Linked DNA regions of Homo sapiens: region 2 is linked to region 1. The links are contacts of gene promoters, found by promoter capture Hi-C in human tissues and cell types (Jung and others, 2019). All regions are on one chromosome and are shown on one strand. The core of a region is centred on a gene start or on the middle of the fragment in contact, and the rest is flanking DNA. Distances in the headings are between cores, read along the strand shown.

What was found. The method cuts DNA at HindIII sites, captures the fragments that hold promoters and counts their contacts. A contact is called where the count stands out against the background at its distance.
Region 2: a contact is called between a fragment that was not itself captured here and the fragment with the promoter of POLR2C in region 1, in 2 of the 25 tissues and cell types used here (aorta and dorsolateral prefrontal cortex).

The regions. Positions count from the first base shown.
Region 1 is chr16:57,461,427-57,465,924 of GRCh38, reverse strand. It overlaps POLR2C (RNA polymerase II subunit C), which reads right to left and starts at 3,246. Exons shown (of 9, transcript NM_032940.3): 1 at 3,115-3,246; 2 at 2,847-2,896. The coding sequence starts at 3,200. RefSeq lists an enhancer at 3,094-3,388. The HindIII fragment of the contact is 18,274 bases long and covers 1-4,498 here.
Region 2 is chr16:57,223,132-57,227,247 of GRCh38, reverse strand. The region is part of intron 10 of RSPRY1 (ring finger and SPRY domain containing 1); the gene reads right to left. Among named protein-coding and RNA genes, the nearest start is that of ARL2BP, 20 kb to the left of the region's middle. The HindIII fragment of the contact is 5,127 bases long and covers 1-4,116 here.

The sequences.
Region 1 (4,498 bases), core at 1,997-4,496:
TTTAGCCATCAAATTTACCTACAGACTTAATGCAGTGGTTCTCAAGATTTAGGAATCACCTGACACTAAACTGCAGATTGCTGGGCTGATTCCACAGCATTAGAGTGGGGCCCAGGTACTTGCATTTTAATAAGACCCACACACACCACACCTCACCTCCCTGCCCAGGTGAATTTAATGCAGGGGGCTCCCTGCTTCACAGAAAACACTGACTTATAGAATATCATAGAAGTGGAAACATGTTTATTTGAGCTGAGTATTTGCATGAGAAGCACTTAAATCTGCTACCTGTGCCACCACTAAATCCAAGAACATGAACTATTTGAGCACTTCAAAGTCAGGGAAACCCTCACAGAAGCAACACAGACTTATGGGGCCATACCTCATTTTAGGATATAATGACTGGACTGCCCAACTTAGCACTTTTTAAACACTCAATCAACAAATGTTTACTGAATTCTTTTAATGCGCAAAGTATACTAAATATAGAACCCAATCCCTAGCAGCAATGAGCTCGTAGGAGGGTAAAGACTGTATTATCGATCACACATGCTTGACTTAAACACACATTTATTCATTCATAAACATTTGCATGGAACCAACTAAATCCAGGAATCAAATGGCACTGGAGCCCAACTGCCAAACGAGGGACACAGACACTAGGAACAGCGGTCGGAAGAGGACCTCCCCCTGCCAGGCCTCCACCTGCTCTGTCCTGCTATGCTTCCCATTGCTTCCCCAGTCCAAGCCAACTGAGAGAACCCTGACCCAAGCTTTTCTGCCTCTTTAATCCCCCAGCCCTTCCCTCCAGCACACCCTTCCCCTCCTTGCTGTACAGGTTAAGATCCTCTGTGCCTCCTGAAAACTAAGCCTTGCCTGCTCTCTATGCTACAGATGTGACATTCCCTCCCTTTCAACTCCTCTCTCACAAAACTCTGTTCAGACTTCCCTCAAGACACTTGTCATAGTGTGCCTTGTGTCATATTTGTGTATGTTATGTCTATACCTCAAGCTTCAGAAATTCCTTCACGCAGGTCCTGGGATGTCTTTGTATTCCTAGCATGGGTGCTCAATATTATTTGTAGAACTGAATTTGTTGGGAAAGAGGCATTTAGACTCAGAATGGCAGGGCTGCATCATGAAGTACAACTCCCTCACCTGACTCCTGATGAAACTGAGGTCCAGAGGCATGAAGTGCTTAGGCAGGGGGAGGTCCAGCACTCCAAGCTGAATTTAAGAAGTGACTGGGGGGCGGGGGGGTGGGGTGGTGGTGGTAGTGGATAAACTACAATGTTCTCTTGCCTAATCATTTGGCCTGCTTATTTCCTTAAAAGTCTGAATATTTGATGCCACAGCTATGACTTATATTTATTTTGCCTAATCCAAACTCTCTGAGCTGACTCTCAGAAATGCTTGAAGTATTTCATACAAGTATAATCAATGCATTAAGCACCTGGAGCAGAGTGGCTGGAACCAGACCAGAAATTGATCTTCCCTCCTCTAAGAGCCAAGTGCACCACAGCTATGCTTCTCCTGAACTACTGATCAAAATCTACCTTGCTTTAGTGTTGTCTGTGGATTCATCTCTCCCCTACAACCTCACTGTGGACTCCATGAGGGCAAAAACCCTGTTCTCTACAGCTTTGCATTCCCAGAGCTTACCACCATGCCTGCCACTTTCATGCTCCATAAATGCTGTTGAAGGAATAGATTAATAAAAAAGCCATCTACCAGCACTGAGCACTCACTAAACACAAAGCACTTATATGGATTACCTCACTTAATCCTTAACATTACCCTGATAAGGATCATTAGTGGCCGAATGTTACAGATGAGGAAACTGCAGCACACAGAAGTTTAATAACTTGCCCAAGTTTCACAAAAGCAGTAAGTGATGCAGCCATAAGAACGAACGAAATCATGTCCTCTGCAGCAACATGGACGTGGCTGGAAGCCACTATCTTCTTTTTTATTTTCTTTTGTTTGAGAAGGAGTCTCACTCTATTGCCCAGGCCAGAGTGCAGTGGCATGATCTCGGCTCACTGCAACCTCCACCTTCTGGGTTCAATCAATTCTGCCTCAGCCTCCCCAGTAGCTGGGATTACAGGTGGGAGCCACCACACCTGGCTAATTTTTGCATTTTTAGTAGAGGCGGGCTTTCCCCATGTTGGCCAGGCTGGTCTCAAACTCCTGGCCTCAGGTGTTCCTCAGTCTTGGCCTCCCAAAGTGCTGGAATTACAGGCGCGAGCGCGGCCTGGAAGCCATTATCCTAAGAGAATTAACACAGGAACAGAAAACCAAACACCGCATGGGAGCTAAAACTGGGTACGCACGGACATAAAGATGACAATAAACACACTGGTGACTACTAGAGCTGGAAGGGAGGCAGTGGGGCTAGGGGTGAAAAACTACCTATTGCGTACTATGCTCACTACCTGGGTGAAAGGATCATTTATACCCCAAATCTCAGCATCACGCACTATACCCAGGCAACAAACCTGCACCAATGTACCCCTTGACTCCAAAATAAAAGTTGAAAACATTTTAAAAACTTTTGTAACAATAGTAGTGAAAACAGTATTTGAACCCAAGTCTGCACACTGCTAAACCCATGCTTCTCAGCAATGCATACCCAGGACAAGGGTGGACCTAAGTGGCCCGTGGGCGCCAGGGAGGCGGCCACTGAGCCAAGGGCACAGGGTATGGTCAAGTCTCCAGCAATGCACTTTTCTCAGCACTACCACCCTCAGCCCGAACCAAGGACTGGAAGGAGCCCCAAAGAGTGTGTGGGTGGAGAGCGGGGCAGGAACCCGTGGGCGCGGGAACGAGGAAGGGGAGTCGCTTACCTATTATGGGAACCTCAGCGATGAAGACCCTCCGAATCGAATTGGCCACCCTGAAAGATCAAAAGCCAAGGGGCGTGAAGGCGCTGCAGCCTCGACAGGCTGGGCCCGCGCCGCAGGCTCCCAAAGCTAAAGCCCTGGTGCAGGGGGGCAGCTCTGGAAGGACATCGCCCCCACCCCACCCCACTACACCCCCGCCCCCTGCCCCGGGGCCCCGGCTTGGGCCTCCCGGCGCCCCAGAGCCGCCAGCCTCTTCCCTCGGTAGCCTTACGCCAGGTCGGTGTTCTCGATGATGAACTTGACATTCTCGTCAGTGAGCTCCGTGATCCGCACGGTAGGCTGGTTGGCGTACGGCATCTCGCCCAGGGGCCACCAGCCTCCGCGTCTGCTCCGCGGTGACTGCGCGGCGCCACCGCCAACACCGGAAGTCAGTCAGCGAGGCCTCCGCGGCTTCCGCAAAGACGACTCACAGCGCCGCCTGCTGCTCGGAGGCCAGAACTGCCGAGCGTCTTCTGCGGCCTCCTGCTTTAAAATGTACCAGATTCAGCTATCTCGGAGGGTAGTTTGGCAAAACACGCATACGTCCTTCACTTAACAGTAACACTTCTAAGAATTCATACTGCAGAAACACTTGCAGTTGTAAACAAAGATACGAGTGCAGGGACGTTCGTGGTAGTACTGTTTGTACTGTCCATTGATAAGAGACCTGGTGGAGTATACACACATGGAATACTATGAAGCACTTAAAAAGAACTTGTACATCTATAGAAAAACAAAAGTATATTTTAATATGAATGTATATTTTAGCAAAGTATACCTGAATTATAAGTAAATACCCTTTCCCTTGCAGTCTCAAGTATGGACCATGCACTTCTGAAAACTTCAGGAAAAGATACAATGTTCTTTAACCTAATGCTTCCTCTACAGTCTGTGTAGCTGTGGTGGGTGAGTGGGAACTCTTTGTCTCTGCATCCCCAGTGCCTGGCAGTGGGCACCATGTGGGGTGCATGCTCAACAAAGAACTACTGAAGTCCCCTAAACAGACTGGAGAGAGGTTTAAATGGGCCTCAAAAAAAGTGGCTGCTGCTCCAACAGAGAAAAGCTCTAAAATAGAACGTGGCAGGAAATACATTTAAGAGTTGGGAGAAGAGTAACCAGATAAAGAGGAGTTTGCCTTTGCAAAGAGTGACACCTCTTCCTGAAACAGAGGGTGGGCACTGATGGAACCCTGCTCCATAACCTGTGTCATCTTGGTAAATTAAGAATTATGGTTGTCTGCTGAGTGTAAGATGGATGCTATGAAGGAAAAAGGAGAATGCAATGAAAACTGGAACAGCTACTGCGAAAACTTCACAGGATGTCAAGAGATACAAGGAATTGAGAGGTGCAAAAAAGATCCAGTGGAAGACCCACAAGAGATCTGAAATTCAATTAGTTGCTGACTTTCCCCCATTAATATTCAGCTGACAGGCAGAAGAGAGCAAAGCAGAAAACAGAGCTAACCAGACGTGCAAAGGGAACCCAGCCAGTGTAGAGGCTGAGAAAATTACTGGGGCTAAAGAATGTACCACTAAAATCGTCAGACAAGAGCAGCCAAGGGAGCTGATGGTCTGTGGGAAGGCTTCTGTTACCCGTATTTTACTGATGGGAAGACT
Region 2 (4,116 bases), core at 350-2,849, 240 kb after region 1:
GGATTCTAAGCTTTCTGGATGATGAGAGAGCTCATGGTTTTTTGAAAATACTAAAATTATGACTTAGAGGGCTGGTTCCAAGTGAATAGATAATGACTTCACCAACAAATATTTTCCCAGTGCCTCCTTTGTTCAGGCACTTTCACATTTGTTAGTTCATTTAATTCTCACTAACATTATCATGAGGCTGGTGGCATCAGACTCCATTTTAAGAGGAAACAAAGGCTCAAAGAGGTCAACCAGCTTGCCCAAGCATATATTACTTGCCCAAGAAACAGAGCCAGGTTTGAACCTAAATTCTTCTGATTCCAAGATCAGTCAGTACACTTGTATATCAGCACAAGATTGTCAGAGGCATTCAAACCAGAGAGACTCCATCTTGAATAGGGGCAGGGTAAAATGAGGCTTAGACTTGCTGGGCTGCTCAGCTGCATTCCCAAGAGGTTAGGCATTCTTAGTCACAGGATGAGACAGGAGGTCAGCACAAGATACAGGTCACAAAGACCCTGCTGATAAAACAGGATGCAATAAAGAAGCCAGCCAGAAGCTGGCCAAAACCCACCAAAACCAAGATGGCAACAAAAGTGACCTCTGGTCATCTTCACTGTTCATTATATGCTAATTATAATGCATTAGCATGCTAAAAGACACTCTAACAGGTGCCATGACACTTTACAATGTCATGGCAGTTTGGAAGTTACCCTATATAGTCTAAAAAGGAGAGGAACCCTTGGTTCCAGGAATTGCCTGTCCCTTTCCCAGAAAACTCATGAATAATCCATCCCTGTTTAGCATATAATCGAGAAATAACTAAGTATACTCAGTTGAGCAGCCCACGCCACTGCTCTGCCTATAGAGTAGCCATTCTTCTGTTTCTTTAATAAACTTGTGAAAACACTTTATTCTATGGATTCGCCCCAAATTCTTTCTTGCGCGAGGTCCAAAAACCCTCTCTTGGGATCTGGATCCAGACCCTTTCCAGTAACAAGATCAGATCAGGCAAATACCTTTCTTGCATGTAGCAGACTTCAAAATACCCAAATATTCAGAGATTTCAAAACTGGAGATAAGAGAAAGGTTATAGTGGACACTCAGCTAAAAGCTATTCTGAAATCAGCTTGATTTGAGGATTGTACAGGTCCTTGGCAGTTTCTTCTTTTTTTTTCTTTGAGATGGAGTTTCACTCTTGTTGCCTAGGCTGGAGTGCAATGGCGCGATCTTGGCTCACCACAACCTCTGCCTCCCGGGTTTAAGCGATTCTCCTGCCTCAGCCTCCTGAGTAGCTGGGATTATAGGCATGCGCCACCAGGCCCAGCTAATTTTGTATTTTTAGTAGGGACGGGGTTTCTCCATGTTGGTCAGGCTGGTCTCGAACTCTAGACCTCAGGTGATCTGCCCGCCTCGGCCTCCCAAAGTGCTGGGATTACAGGCGTGAGCCACCGCGCCTGGCAGTTTCTTCTTTTTGTTACTTACTGCCTTTCAATTATTTCACAGAACTGTTAAAATAAAAGGGTGGCTGAGATCTTAAGAAATTATTTTGAGTGCTTATAAAAAATAGAAGCAGCATGCAAATCAGACAACTGCTATCTTTAAGGAACAATGGTGAAAAGTTTTACTAGAGAAAGAAATTGAAAATGGCCAAATCCAAGTAAGATCAGGTCCTGATGGCCTGCTTCTTCTATGGGGCAAACAATACAGTGAGGAGAGAGATTGGAAAAAAAGTTCTGATGAATGCAACAATGATTTTGTACTGGATTTTTGGATTACAACATACTGAATTTGGAGGAACGCTCTCCAAAGTGACTCTTCTGAAATAGCTATTGATATTCACTATTCAGACTACTCAAGAGTTAAATGAGCTTGCATCTAATTGCCTTAGAAATTCACCACCCAAGGCTGCCAAGAGCAGTGGCTCATGCCTGTAATTTCAGCACTTTGGGGGGCAGATCACTTGAGGCCAGGCATTTGAGACCAGCCTGGCCAACATGGCGAAACCCTGTCTCTACTAAAAATACAAAAATTATCCAGGTGTGGTGGCGCACACCTATAATCCCAGTTACTCTGGTGGCTGAGGCACAAGAATCGCCTGAACCTGGGAGGCAGAGGTTGCAGTGAGCAGAGATCACGTGCCACTGCACCCTGGCCTGGGTGACAGAGCGAGACTGTCTCAAAACAAAACAAAACAAAAGAAATTCACTACTTGCTAGAAAGAATGCCTTGCCACACCTTTCAAACGCTGAACAAGTCAGTAAGTAAAAAACTTAAAAACCACTAAAATGTAGGCATTGTGGCATAAGTAAAAGGCAAGCAATTCTTTTCTATCTTCACCTTCTAATGTCCTGAGAAGTCCTTGACAGAACACTTGAAAGAAATTCCTAGAAGCTAGCCACCATGAGTTGGTAAAGAGCAGACTCATTACACATTCTTTACCATGCAATGTCTTTGATGACTGGATAAGTTCCACAACAGAGTGGCACTGTAGCACAAAGAAGGAACTCTAATAACTTTAACTACAGAGCAGCATCTACAGATTTAAGGAGAAGATGCCTCTGCCTAGCAGAGATGCACTTTAAAAATCTCTTAAGCTTACATCTCAGAGAACAACCTAGATGTCCTACACCCTCTCTCAGCTCAAAATGTTCCCAGCAGGATTAATTTTGGTTTCCATTGGCTAGGACAGATAAATGAGAGAATAGAGTGGTTAGCTTGGTATTTATCTTGAACTACCTGTTTTTTGGTCATGCATATTTTAGCAATGGAAACATTACCAAATACAAACAAAAGAAAGTTTATCCACAGCTTGTCATTCAGGGAATAGTTTGAGTCTCTTTCCCACGTGGTGGACACTCTCCTTTTTCCTGCTGTAGGGCATCCCAACCGTTTCCTGTTAAGGGAAATGTATGAAGACAGTGTTCTGCCTCCTCCTTTGGAAGTGGAAAGGTAAGATATGACCTAGGCTTGGCCAGCTGGACCTTCCCATCAAACACTCAGTATGGTGCAAGTGACCCCAAACAGAGGGATAGTTAGGATGGATTTCCAGCAGCAATGGTGGCTGCATGCTGGCCAGATCGTTTCCCTAAAACACCGGCTATTGTACTTCCTGTTTCTTGGCCCTGACAGCCTTGGAGCCTGTCTAGTTCCAAAACTTCTCCATAATCTGGAGGCTCCGGAAAGGCTTCTAAATCATTCCTTTTCTGTCTGAGATAGCCAGAGTCATTTTCTCGAAGGCAGATGCTTCAACAGGGGAAGGAGCATGGGCTATCCTGGCCTGAAATCTCTAGCAGCTGGAGACTACATGGCTTTGGGGAAGTTTCTTAATTTCTCTCAACTTGATTTTCCTCATCTTTAAATGGCAGGATAATACCTTTCCAAACTCTCAAAAAGATTAAAGATAAATATGTGAAAGACCTCACAAAAGTGTCACATGACAGACACTCACAAAAAAGCAAAAGATATTTATTTATTTATTTATTTTTGAGACAGAGTCTCACTCTATCGCCCAGGCTAGAGTGCAGTGGCACTATCTGGGCTCAGTGCAACCTCTGCCTCCCATATTCCAGCAATTCTCCTGCCTCAGCCTCCCGAGTAGCTGGGATTACAGGCGCCCGCCACCACGCCCAGCTAATTTTTTATATTCAGTAGAGACGGGGTTTCACCATGTTGGCCAGTCAAACTCCTGACCTTAAGTGATCCACCCACCTCAGCCTCCCAAAGTGCTGGGATTACAGGTGTGAGCCACTGCGCCTGGCCAAAAGGCAAAAGATATTTTAGATAAATCAGAGTACACCCTTGGAGAGTTGCTCCTCCTAAGCCTCCATAAAAATATACAATACAACAAGACAAACTGTTCTGTAGGTTACCTGAACAGAACTATCCTTAAGCTTATTTTAATGACCTAACATTGAGCCCAGTGGCCAGCCTTTTAAAATGGAAACCTAAGCAGCAAGAATTCAAGTAAGAGGCACTATGCAGAGACTTAGAATCTTTTGAAACTGGGTGTATCCTAGGAATGACTTACTCCATAGAATCACACCCTGTCTGAATAGGCAAAAAGATTCAGAATCACCAGAACAATGTACATTTAAAGCAAAGTTTTAAATATGGCAACATCATTAA